3 separate regions of the Homo sapiens genome follow, and all the other regions are linked to region 1. The links are contacts of gene promoters, found by promoter capture Hi-C in blood cells and fetal thymus (Javierre and others, 2016). All regions are on one chromosome and are shown on one strand. The core of a region is centred on a gene start or on the middle of the fragment in contact, and the rest is flanking DNA. Distances in the headings are between cores, read along the strand shown. Region 1 holds the start of KIF14 (kinesin family member 14). Region 2 overlaps CAMSAP2 (calmodulin regulated spectrin associated protein family member 2). Region 3 overlaps CAMSAP2 (calmodulin regulated spectrin associated protein family member 2).

Region 1 (4,211 bases), core at 571-3,070:
ATCATTTTTCTTTAAATCTTACATAATCCAGAAAGCTTCAAACGTGCCAGTTTTACTTCGACTCTTTCCACGTTTTCTTTCTGTTTGTCTCCCTCTGGTGGATTTAAAAAAATACTTGCTTTATTCTATTTATGAGCTTATTTTCCTTTTAAAATTGAAAAAGGTCTTTATGTCTTCTGTCATGTTTAATATATATTTCCAGTTACATTTTATTTTTATTATTTTGAATTATACATATGTTTAAAATTTTTATGTATTTGAGTTTGTCTGTCTTTTCTTTGACATATCTTGCTTTGTTTCTAAATTGAATGATCATTTTCCCATAGATGTGATAACTTTTTTTTTTTTTTTTCTTGAGACGGAGTTTCTCTCTTGTCCCCCAGGCTGGAGTGCAATGGCGCGATCTCGGCTCACTGCAACCTCCGCCTACCCGGTTCACGTGATTCTCCTGCCTCAGCCTCCTGAGTAACGGGGATTACAGGGGCCCGCCACCACGGCTGCCTAATTTTTGTATTTTTAGGAGAGACGGGGTTTCACCATGTTAGCCAGGCTGGTTTTAAACTCCTGACTGCAAGTGATCCGCCTGCCTTGGTCTCCCAAAGTGCTAAGATTACAGGCGTGAGCCACCGCACCTGGCCCTGATAAATATTATATTCTATTTTCTGATAGTTTCCTTATACCTTAATTTTAATTGAGTTTTAGAATGATTTTTAGAGTAAGATTTAGAATGAGTACTTTATCATCTGTTTGGTTGGTCTATATAATTGGAGCTACTTATGGTCTCTATCTCAGTGAATACTTCTTCAATATCTCTGTACTTTTTGCCTGTTTAAAAAACATTGTTGCTTTACAATATCTATTTATCTAGTCTTTCTCATTTATTTGGTTATTTTTCAGAATGTATTTGTAATATTTTTTCAGATTTCAAAATCTTATGGGGGCTGGGCGGCGCAGTGGCTCACGCCTGGCAGCTTACAAGGTCAGGAATTCGAGACCAGCCTGGCCAATATGGTGAAACCCCGTCTCTACTAAAAATACAAAAATTAGCTGGGCGTGGTGGTGCGCGCCTGTAATCCCAGCTACTCCAGAGGCTGAGGCAGGAGAATCGCTTGAACCAGGGAGGCGGAGGTTGCAGGGGCCACTGCACTCCAGCCTGGGCTGCAGAGCGAGACTCCGTCTCAAAAAAGAAAAAAAAAATTAAAAAAAGGGAACTTTTACTGAAACGGAGTTACATTGTACGGCGGCAAGAACCTTCAAGTTCTAGTTATGCCACTGCTAATTGTCTGATCTTTCACAAGTTTAACTCTAAACCTCAGTTCCTCATCTGTAAACGAGGGATAACATTAATATTTATCTCACAAGATTTTCAGGACTGTTTAAAAATTCATATAAGACATTTAGCATATTTCCTACGTGAACGCCTTGCATAGGAAACACTAGAAAAGTTAATTATTATGATTAACTTGGGGGCAAATATCCATTTACAATGTGAAGTCTTCGATGTAATGGCTTCTTTTAGATTAAAGACCGACAAGAGTGTCACTGTCATGCTTTTCGTTTGACACCCACTTCAACGAGGGGCCCGCTGCGCCCGCGACCGCCGCCCCTTCCTCTGGTCGGATTTAAAGGGGGCCAAGCTCCACGCTTTAGCAGAACCCGAGGAGGGGAGGGAGCGTTGCCTGGGAGATGAGGGTGGGGCGAGTCCAGCATTCAGAGACGGCTACCGGAGCCCAACCACCGGCACTTCCGGGGGGCGGGTGGAAGCAAAGGCGCGGCACCCGACGCGACGCCCAGCAGCCAATCAGAAGGCGGGGCGCCCATTCAAATTGCGGCCTTCTGGGGAGCCGGCGCTGGAGGTGGTGAGTGGCGTGGGGACTGTGTCGAGGGGGTCCCCAAGGTGCCGGACCCTGCGGAGGGGCGAAGTTTCGGCACTGGGGAGGGCGTGCGGACGCTTTCCCTACAGGCGACCACTGCTCTGCGGGCGGGTGGTCTTAGCTCCAGTCCCCCATTCAGTTCCTCAGCATTCCAGGTCGGCGGCGAAGGGGTCCCCGAACGAAGGGCGCAAGGCAGCGTCTCTGCTGGGACCGGGAAGCCGGACTTCAGGGCCTCTCGGCCCGTGGGCTTCTCCCCGAGTCTCCCCGAGTCGGTTGGCATTAAGAGGTAATTCTTAGTCATAGCCCCTGGTAATGACTAGCAGAGAAAGAACAGAATCACCGGATGTTTTGGTTTGGATTGTGCTTATTTTCCTTGTATTCCTTCCAGTCCTCTTTAAAATCTGATGGCGAAACTCCTCAAACAGAAACCGTATTGATTTGTGCAAATCGCAAATGGTTTTTAGTTGCAAGAGAATTTCCAGAATCTTCTTTTTGCCTTTAAATTCATTTCATAACAGGAAAATTCTGTATTTTGAGTTGAAACGTTGATGGGAGATGCTTATAAGCTGACGAATTTTTTTTGTAATGACTGTTATTTATGTAAAAATTTAAAAGCCTCATTTAAAAATGAACTTCCATTAATTTGTTCCTCGCTAGCAATAATCTTTGCAATAGTTTGAACCAGTGTCATTTTACAGGTTAGAACCCGGCATGCAAATTTAAAGTCTTGTTTACATCCTTGTAAGGAGTTGGATACAAAGCTGACTAAAAGCCAGGTCTCTTAGCTGTCACTGCTGTTCCCTTTCTTTAAAACGTTAATACCTGATAGATATTGTTGCTGTATATTTACATACACCTCTGTCTAATTTGTTGTCTTACTGCTAAAGGGCAGGTTGTCTGTTTATCTAATCTTGCATGGTTTTTCTCAACACAATTAATTTACAGTACTTATCGTACTTACTGCCTGTGGTACTTGGGAATAATCTGCCTCGTGACACCAATCAATTCAATCTTCTCTATAGGCATTCCTGTATTCAACATACATGGGCCGGACGCGGTGGCTCACGCCTGTAATCCCAGCACTTTGGGAGGCCGAGGCGGGCGGATCACAAGGTCAAGATATCGAGACCATCCTGGCCAACATGGTGAAACCCCGTCTCTACTAAAAATACAAAAATTAGCTGGGCATGGTGGTGGGCGCCTGTAGTCCCAGCTACTTGGGAGGCTAAGGCAGGAGATTTGCTTGAATACAGGAGGAGGAGGTTGCAGCAAGCCAAGGTCGTGCCACTGCACTCCAGCCTGGTGACAGAGCAAGACTCCATCTCAAAAAAAATATTTTTATAAAAATAAAATAAAATAAACCTTCTTATGGAACATTGGCAAAAAAAAAAAATACGTGTAGCAGGTATTTATAAAAATACTTTGCTCCACACTCTGATTTAGGTGCTAGGGTTTCCTTTAGTCCTTCCCATTCCCCACACTGGAAGTACTTGAAAATCTATGTTGGCATGCACTTTTTACATCTTCTAAGTCACTTGACACATTTGGCCTGATATATGGCTTATCAGTATATTTCTTCTAGACTAAAGAAATGGGAATTGTATTCTTGTCTTTGAAGTCTACAGTATCTATCAGAGGGCCTGGCACTAATGGAAACTTAGTCAATATTTGTTGAATAATGATGGTAAGTTCTCTGAGAGACTTGCCTGAAGTTGCTTGGAAGCAGTATCTGAGCTGCAGATTGTGATCTATTGTAATGTATGCCTCTGGGAATTTACTTACACAATGGGATGTTCTCTCTATATTTTTAAAGCTTGTTTGTAGTCTGTGTGATCTAAATCTTTTTTTTTTCTTTTAGTTTAGCAGATACTTTCAGAAATGGATACATAAGAAATGGCTGGAAATCAAATGAATGTCCAAAGAAGAGCTTAGGGTCTTAGTAACATTCTTTTTTAAAATAACTGTCTGCCAAAATGTCATTACACAGTACTCATAATAGAAATAACAGCGGTGATATTCTTGATATTCCTTCTTCCCAAAATAGTTCATCACTGAATGCCCTCACCCACAGTAGCCGACTTAAGCTGCATTTGAAGTCGGATATGTCAGAATGTGAAAATGATGATCCATTATTGAGATCTGCAGGTAAAGTCAGAGACATAAATAGAACTTATGTTATTTCTGCCAGTAGAAAAACAGCAGACATGCCCCTTACCCCTAATCCTGTAGGTAGATTGGCACTTCAGAGGAGAACTACAAGGAACAAAGAATCATCTTTGCTTGTTAGTGAGTTGGAAGACACAACTGAAAAAACAGCAGAAACACGTCTTACATTAC
Region 2 (4,211 bases), core at 751-3,250, 210 kb before region 1:
ATCTGAGTTAAAATTCATATCCAAAATTAAAATTCATATCCAAAATTTTTATGTAGAAAGTTTTTCCGTATAAACAGAAAAATAATATAAATAAGGTATTTTCAAGAACTTTAAGAATTAGAAAAATGTCACCTGAAGAATCAGAAACATACCAGCTTCCTACATATAAACAACATTTCCAATAAATTTTTCTTATAGCACCAGGAAGAATAGCCTCAATAATTTTGTGGAATGTATTTTAATCTCCCATTTAACTGAACGTTTTTGGCAGCTGCAGTTATAATAGCCACAAAAAGTACAAGAGCAGGACCAAAGAGCAGGAAGCCACTGAAAACGTGTCAGGGTTTCCAATTTGTAACAGAAATTTTAAAAACAAGGATTTTTTTGTTTTCTAGACTAGAAGAACCCATTAAATAGAAAATGGTGATAACAAGAAATTATTGTGGACTATTCCTAACAGCAGGTGTACAAAGAAGTCTCTTAACGGTTAAAGTTATTCCATATTTCTTGTAAAATATGCAATAATTGGATTTTGTTACTAATTCAGACTGCTCTGGCCTTTCTCTTGGCCCTCCATTGATCTAAACTGGTAACAGCAATCTTCTTGGCGGAAAAAGGAAACCCACAGATTGGCTGTGTGAAGGAAATTTAACTAAAGAGTAAATGTACTAAAAGAACAAATAAATATACTATGCATACTTATATACGTATGCTTCAAAAAGCTCAAATACATAGCATAAGTTCCTTGCTGAAGAATAACGCCATTTCTGAAGTGATCAGCAACTATCCTTTTGGTTTTCAGGGAAGAATTAGGCAAACTGCAACATCAAATCCTGTTTTAAGATGTAAATAACCACGAGGACAAAGGTTTTTTGATTTTTTTTTTCTTTTTATCAGGACCACCAGGCAAGAAACAAAGGGTTTTTTAAAACCCATGGATAACAGGTGAAAAAACTTTTATTAAGTTTCTACCGACAAAGGGGCCAACCTAGGCAGTCCAGATTTTCTGGAATAGTTCTAATTTCAAATATTCCTTTCAATTGTCTTTATAATACATGTTTGGCTCACCCTGAATTTTGGCTAGTTGTTTTAGGACTTGCCATTAATACTCTCCAAATAATACTCTTCCTCTGGGTATCTACAACATTCTGGCAAGGTAGGATAATTCCTGAACTACTTCTAGGTGCTCTCAGGCCGTTCCAGGAGGATATTGGTTTGGTGTGGTCTTTATTGGAGACCTCAAAGAGTTGGGGTCCTTCAGGGAGTTAATCATGGCTGTGACTTGTTACTGCATGACTTGTTAACTTGTTAGATTTAATCTTTTTTTTTTTTTTTGAGACAGTCTCCCTCTGTCACCCAGGGTAGAGGGCAGCGGAGCTATCTCAGCTCACTGCAACCTCTGCCTCCCAGGTTCAAGCAATTCTCCCACCTCAGCCTCCCTAGTAGCTGGGACAACAGGCATGCACCACCATGCTTGGCTAATTTTTGTATTTTTTGGTAGAGACGGGGTTTCACCATGTTGGCCAGGCTGGTCTTGAGCTCCTGACCTCAAGTGAACCTCCCACCTAGGCCTCCCAAAGTGCTGGGATTACAAGTGTGAGCCACCACGCCCAGCCATTAGACTTAATCTCCTAGCTGTTGCAGATCCAAAAGTTATGCCGAATCGCTGATGGAATATAAAATGGTACAAGCTCTTTTGGAGGGGATTTCGTCAACATTTAACAAAACTACATACAGTATGCATTTACCCTTCAATCTAGCAGTCCAACTTCTAGGAAATTTACCTTGAAAATACATATCCAAAATACAAAAGGCCACATATAACAGTATTCTGTGCAGCACAATTTGCAATAGCAAGATACTGGAAACTACTTAAATGCCTACACATAGGTACATAGTTGAAGAAACTATGGCACATATTCACAAGGCAGCACTATGCTGCTTTAAGAAATAATGATTGGCCGGGCACAGTAGCTCACACCTGTAATCCCAGCACTTTGGGAGGCCAAGGCGGGTAGATCACGAGGTCAGGAGGTCGAGACCAGCCTGGCCAACATGGCGAAACCCCGTGTCTACTAAAAAATGCAAAGATTAGCCAGGTGTGGTGGCGCTCGCCTGTAGTACCAGTTACTTGGGAGGCTGAGGCAGAAGAATCGCTTGAACCTGGGAGGCAGAGGTTGCAGTGAGCCGAGATCGCACCATTGCACTCCAGCCTGGGTGGCAGAGCAAGACTCTGTCTCAAAAAAAAAAAAAAAGGAAGAAAGAAAGAAAGAAAGAATGATCTCTAGGGACCGTATGGAGTAATTTCCAGGATATACAGTTACTGAAAAGAGCAAACTGCAAAAGAATAAATATGTTATGTTTTGTGCTAGAAAGGAGGAGAAACAAACATGCACATACGTGCTTGGTCCATTTAGAAGGGCTGGGAGGGAGTACATGTGGAATAAGTAAGGGGTAGAAGAGATAGGGGAGGGATTGATACTTCTCTGAGTATACCATTTATATAGTTCTGATTTTTGGAATTATGTCAATGTTCTACATATTCAAAAAACAAAAGTTAACAAGGATGGTGTCAAAAAAGATCGCTAAAATGGAAAGAATACAGAAACCAATTAACACAAATGTATTTCAAAGGAATAATATAACCACAGTGAAGGCGGGGGCAGAGGGAAACAACTTAAGAACACTGTACTTTGACTATATACTATTAGTCTAAAAAAAAATTGCAAACAAATCTTAAATTCTTCTTAGTAGGTTTTTAAATTTATTTATTTATTTATTTATTTGAGACAGAGTCTCACTCTGTCACCTAGGCTGGAGTACACTGGCACGATCTCGGCTCACTGCAACCTCCGCCTCCCGGGCTCAAGCAATTCTCCTGCCTCAGCCTCCCAAGTAGCTGGGATTACGGGCGCATGCCAACACACCTGGCTAATTTTTGTATTTTTGGTAGAGACGGGGTTTCACCATGTTGGCCAGGCTGGTCTCAAACTTCTGACCTCAAGTGATCCACCCGCCTCGGCCTCCCAAAGTGCGGGGATTATAGGCTTGAGCCACCATGCCCGGCCAGTAGGTTTATTTTTCATATTGGTATGAGTATAGCAATTCTGAAACTACTGTATATGTATTGTAGGACTGAGCAAATAAGTAAAATATATTAATGCTGTTGGAAGCCTGAGTTCTCACTGTGGAAGGGGAAGTCCTGCATGGAATAGGGGAAGCCAGGAAGAACTCTGTGGAGTTTGATTGGAATTGGAGGTTTATATATGAACTCATGTTTGTGTATTTTTAAAATTTTATTTCTGAACTCTGTCTACTGAAATAGGGCCTAGAAGTAATGATATTCCTGTAGCAATGAGCCACTTAGTGCCCAGATTTTACAGTTGCTAAATACTGTTTTCCATAAAAAAGAATTAAGACTTACTGAAGAAATGGCTGATTTTAGGATTATGGCAAGGAAACTACAAAATGAATCTGAAACATCTTGTTGAGCTAGAAATTAAATAAGGAGGGGCAAAAAAAAAAAAAAGAGATGGATGAATGGGGGCATATCAAAAGCACAGGAGTCAGTCTGAAGGGACTCCCGTTGGCCAAATCTAAGACCATTTGAGCATCAAAATAAAGAAATAGCTAATTTTAGGTCAAGGAAAGAACAAGATGAGCCTGGAGCATTCTGTAGTGCCAGAAAGTAAGGAAGTGCTCAAAAAACAAAAGGATTGGGGCATATCCAAGAGATACCAAAGCCAACCCCAAAAAGCTCTCAGTGGCTGATGCTGTAAAATTTTGAGCAACAAAATAAACAACGCAGTATTAGATTGTAACTCAAAGCATAAAATATTAAGTATACATGAGTCCATACTGATATAAATAAATGATTGAATATAAAAAATAAATGGGGAAGAAGACACAAATCTTCCTTACAGAAGAATCCCCAATAGTATATGCAAGTATTCTCCCTTTCAGGGAGTGAGCTTAATTTCCCTCCTTTGGAGTGCAGGATGGAGGTGGTGACCCACTTCCAAAAATAAGAAGGGAAAACCAGTAAATTTATAATGGAGAAACCTGACAAACACTACCTTAACCAAGGGATCATGGTTAATATCACTAGTGTTAAATCATGTTCTTATCATGTACCCCGTGATACAATATATGATATGATATATGACCTCTCTGGTAGTCTTCTCAAAAAACCTGTAACTCCAGTCTAACCA
Region 3 (4,211 bases), core at 713-3,212, 190 kb before region 1:
AGGTTGCATAGTTTCTCAAGATGAATAGGTCTAGAATGTAACTGTGATTTTCTACAGCTGAGGAGGAGTCAGGGAAAGATTACTAAAGATGAAGAAATAAAGGAACTCCAGAGGCAAAGTATTAAGCAGTCCTTCTACAATGATACTGATATTATGGATAATGAAGATAGCTGTAATAGTGTTTTTTACATTTAGCTTTTTATTACGAGCTTCATGCCAGCTTTCAAGAAAGGATACCTGGAGATATAACTTCTTTTAAATCCGTTTAGTGCTTGTCTTCAGATAAGGTTTAATTTTCTTTTGGCTGGCAGTTGTAAATGAAAGTGGATCAAGACAAATTAACTACTCAAATTGGCAAAGGGAGTGATAAGCTGACAAATTAAGCATCTTCAAAGCACAAATCACAGCTCCATAAAAATTTCCAAGAAGAGGAATCCACAATCAATAGGATCTTGTGCAACTTGGTCAAGCAAACCTAAGAATCCCCTAACTGGAAATGTAAGAAAATTATTTCATTCTTGAAATGAATTCAAAAAATATTTACTGAACACCCACTGTGTATAGTTCACTATTAGGAGTGTTCTGAATTTTTTCATAATCTGGTATGAACCAGATTAATCATTAAGAGTAATTATAAATATTGGCCAGGCGTGGTGGCTCACGCCTGTAATTGCAGCACTTTGGGAGGCCAAGGTGGGTAGATCACCGTGAGGCCAGGAGTTCCAGACCAGCCTGGCCAACATGGCGAAAACTCGTCTCCACTAAAAACACAAAAATTAGCCGGGTGTGGTGGCAAACGCCTGTAATCCCAGCTACTTGGGAGGCCGAGGCATGAGAATTGCTAGAACCTGAAGGGCGGAGGTTGCAGTGAGCCGAGATCATGCCACTTCACTCCAGCCTGGGTGACAGAGCGAGACTACTTCTCAAAAAAAAAAAAAAAAAAAGAGTAATCATAAATATTGCTAAGTATACAGAAAACTATTTTCATCATTTTAAGCTTTTTTACTAAAAAATTTAAGTGTATTTTACAACTTAAGTTTGCACTTTGATTTGAAACAAAAAGAGTAATGAAGTGGCAATGTATAATTTAGAATTTCACGTTTTCTGGCTATGAGATGCGATTTACTCAAGTGAGTATAATCCTACCTTATTTATCCAGTACATGACAGCGTCCTCAATATCATAGGGCAGATCTGTGGCTTGAAAAAAAGCTGAATACTGCTGAGCACACGCAATTACTTTTTCTATACTGACCATTTCTACAGTATAAGCCATCATGAGGGTATCGATCATGGCCAAATGTGCACTCTGAAAATATAAAACAAGAACAAATAGTTTAAAAATTATATTTAGAAATTGCTTTTTACATATTTTGAAATGTTAATGACATCTCCTAACAAGCAGCAGAATAACTACAGAAGACCAGCCTTAATAAGAAAGCATAAATTGTACATGCTAAAGATGAGCTAACTGACCCAAACTAATTTATTGTTCAAATACTTATTGAGGATCTATATTTAAGATACTCATTATCTTCTACTCCAAAGATGCTTCTTTTCTTGTTTTTCCTATTTTTTATAATGTCATGGTCATTTACTCAGCAATATAACTTACCGACTTCAGAACCATCTTTGACAGTCTTTCCTCATTCTTCTCACCCACATAGTACAAGTTTATAGATTCTCTATCTTTCAAATCTTCCCTCTTCCTCATTCTGATTGTCACAGTTCCAATTCAGACCCAAACATTTCTCACACTTGAACAAGGTAAAAAATTCTTTAACTGGTTTTCCTGCCTCCAACTTCTTCCTCATCTAATTCATCCAGAACAGGACTTCTAGCCTTTGGCACAGATAGATAGATTTGGCATAGATAGATAGATAGATAGATAGATAGATAGATAGATAGATAGATAGATACACACACACACACACACACACAATTATATGGAAGTTCTAAAAAAAACATTACAGTAGTATATGAAGTGCCCCTCCCTCCACCAGTTTCTTCAGTCTGGTATATATTCCTACAAAAAAGTTTAATGCCTATGAAATATGTACACATTTACACTGCTTGGCATTACCAACAATGTTACAACATTGTATTTCTCCAGGGATAATTCTTAGTTGTGGCCACTGGGTCCAAGGGCAACCACAATTTAAGTTTTGATAGATAACCATTAATCTACTCTCTAGAAAGGTTACACCAACTTATCTCCCACCAACGTTATCAGCCTGCCTGTTTCTCCACATTTTTGACAACATTAGATATTATTCACTTTTAAAAATCTGTATCAACATGAAAGTTTAGAAGACCCCACTCTTGTTTGACTTTACAATCCTGATTATCACTGAAGATGAGCATCCTTTTATGTGCTTTAGCAACCATTTGCATTTCTTCTTTGGAAAGCTACCTGCTCAAATCTTTTGCCTATTCTTAACTGATTTGTAAGAGCTCATTATATATTAAGTACTTTTTAACCTTCTGTCATTGAGGTAGCAAATACTTTCCCCTAGTTTTTCTCCAGACTTTCAACTTTAGGGTACCTTTTGTTGCAGAGTTTTAAATATTTACTTGGTAAAATCTGTTAATCTCAGTGTTTTCCTTTATGGCTTTGGAGTTGATAACATGTTTATAAAGGTCTTCTCCAACCCCAAAATATAGAAATATTATTCTCTATTTTTTCCATAACTTTAATTCCATCTGGAATTTACTTTTGACAATGTTATAAACTAGCGGCTGTTTTTTCCAAATCGGAGATTGCATCATATCATTCTCTCATAAAGTCTACCTCATTTTCTACATAACGAAGTCTAAACTCCTTAAAAGAGGTAAAGTTTCTTTCTTTCTTTCTTATTAGCTGCTTTGTTAGTCTAGCCTTAGAATCTACCATTTCCTTCTCCAATCTGCTACCAGTTTTCAAGCTTTTGTGCCCTGGCTTGTTGTCCTCCTAACAATACAGACTAAGTTTTGTCGTTGGTTTGAATGTTACTCTGATTGTGAAGATTTTTCCAGTTCTCTTTCCAATCAAAATGACTCACTCAACCTATCAATGAGTACAGGTTCCTACAGAATATTGTTTCTGTTTGCATTAATTTCTAAATTATCTAAAGTACGGCATCAGCACTGGTATTTTTAAACAGCTTCCCCAGGTGATGCTAATGAGCAGCCAGGGTTGAGAACCACTGATTTCTCTGACATGTGCACAGTCACCTGCATATGACTCTATTTCTCTAGATAGACAGTTGTAGGATATTATCTCAGTTATCTTCCTATTCCCTACATCTAACGTGGTATCTGGCAACTAGCAGGGGCTAAAGAAAGGAAAGGAAAGAAAGAAGCTAGCCTTTTGGTTACTATAAAGACTCAAGAGCTGGGTTACTCTGGAGGTTGAGGAAGTGAATTCTGATCGTTTAGGAGGTGGCAGTTCCAGCTTCTAGAAAACTGAGCAGTATTTATAGGAAAGCTGACGCTTTGTAAGAAGCAGAATGCTTAACACTGGCAATCATAAAACCAACAGTGGCTCCTACTTACTAAGTCTAACTTATGTGCCATATACTGTGCTAAATACTTTATTAGTATATTAACTCTTTCATTTCAAATATTTTTTGAAATAAGCCTGGAGACAATAGATAAAAAACACTTTCTATAATCCTCAAAAGTCTCTAAAGGAAGTATCATTTATGTTTTATATGTGCAGAAACTGAAGTTTAGACAATTATGCAATTTGTCCAAACCTGTGTGCTCTTTCTACCATATCATGCAGTTGGCAGGAGTTAAGTCATTTTGTTGCAAAGCAAAAAAATATGTTTCAGAAATGACAAACATAATATGCAAGAAAGAAAAAGTAGGATCAATAATTATTTCAAATTAAAACCGCATTTTCATATTCAATCTCCTCTAAGAAGTATTTTCCACACTGCTACTGTCCAACTATCCCAGTTCTTCCTTCACACTCAGAATATTGCAGCCTTTCTCTTAGTCATTCATCTGTATGTATCCTCTCCGTTATACTCCATCCCTGGAGAGCAGGGATCCTGTCTTTTTCACTTTTGTTCCTAGACAATGTTTTATGGGTGAAAGTAAATTCCTGTTTAACAGCATTAAAAAGCATGGCATTTTTGGATTAAAATGTGGGAAAATATTTCAAGAGCCACAAAATCATTCATGTACTCTTAAGACTCCTCTTGGCAGTTTGTTCTATAAACACAT

Evidence for each region. The method cuts DNA at HindIII sites, captures the fragments that hold promoters and counts their contacts. A CHiCAGO score of 5 or more calls a contact.
Region 2: a contact is called between a fragment that was not itself captured here and the fragment with the promoter of KIF14 in region 1, in 11 of 17 cell types (M2 macrophages, M0 macrophages, total CD4 T cells and 8 more). The highest score is 13.0, in M2 macrophages.
Region 3: a contact is called between a fragment that was not itself captured here and the fragment with the promoter of KIF14 in region 1, in 17 of 17 cell types (naive CD4 T cells, total CD4 T cells, activated CD4 T cells and 14 more). The highest score is 22.2, in naive CD4 T cells.

The regions. Positions count from the first base shown.
Region 1 is chr1:200,618,360-200,622,570 of GRCh38, reverse strand. KIF14 (kinesin family member 14) reads left to right here and starts at 1,820. Exons shown (of 30, transcript NM_014875.3): 1 at 1,820-2,160; 2 at 3,733-4,211. The coding sequence starts at 3,848. RefSeq lists a silencer at 1,733-1,882 and an enhancer at 2,051-2,552. The HindIII fragment of the contact is 3,652 bases long and covers 38-3,689 here.
Region 2 is chr1:200,823,554-200,827,764 of GRCh38, reverse strand. The region is part of intron 4 of CAMSAP2 (calmodulin regulated spectrin associated protein family member 2); the gene reads right to left. Among named protein-coding and RNA genes, the nearest start is that of GPR25, 47 kb to the left of the region's middle. The HindIII fragment of the contact is 5,432 bases long and covers 1-4,211 here.
Region 3 is chr1:200,804,473-200,808,683 of GRCh38, reverse strand. It overlaps CAMSAP2 (calmodulin regulated spectrin associated protein family member 2), which reads right to left. Exons shown (of 17, transcript NM_203459.4): 3 at 1,147-1,308. Among named protein-coding and RNA genes, the nearest start is that of GPR25, 66 kb to the left of the region's middle. The HindIII fragment of the contact is 1,926 bases long and covers 1,000-2,925 here.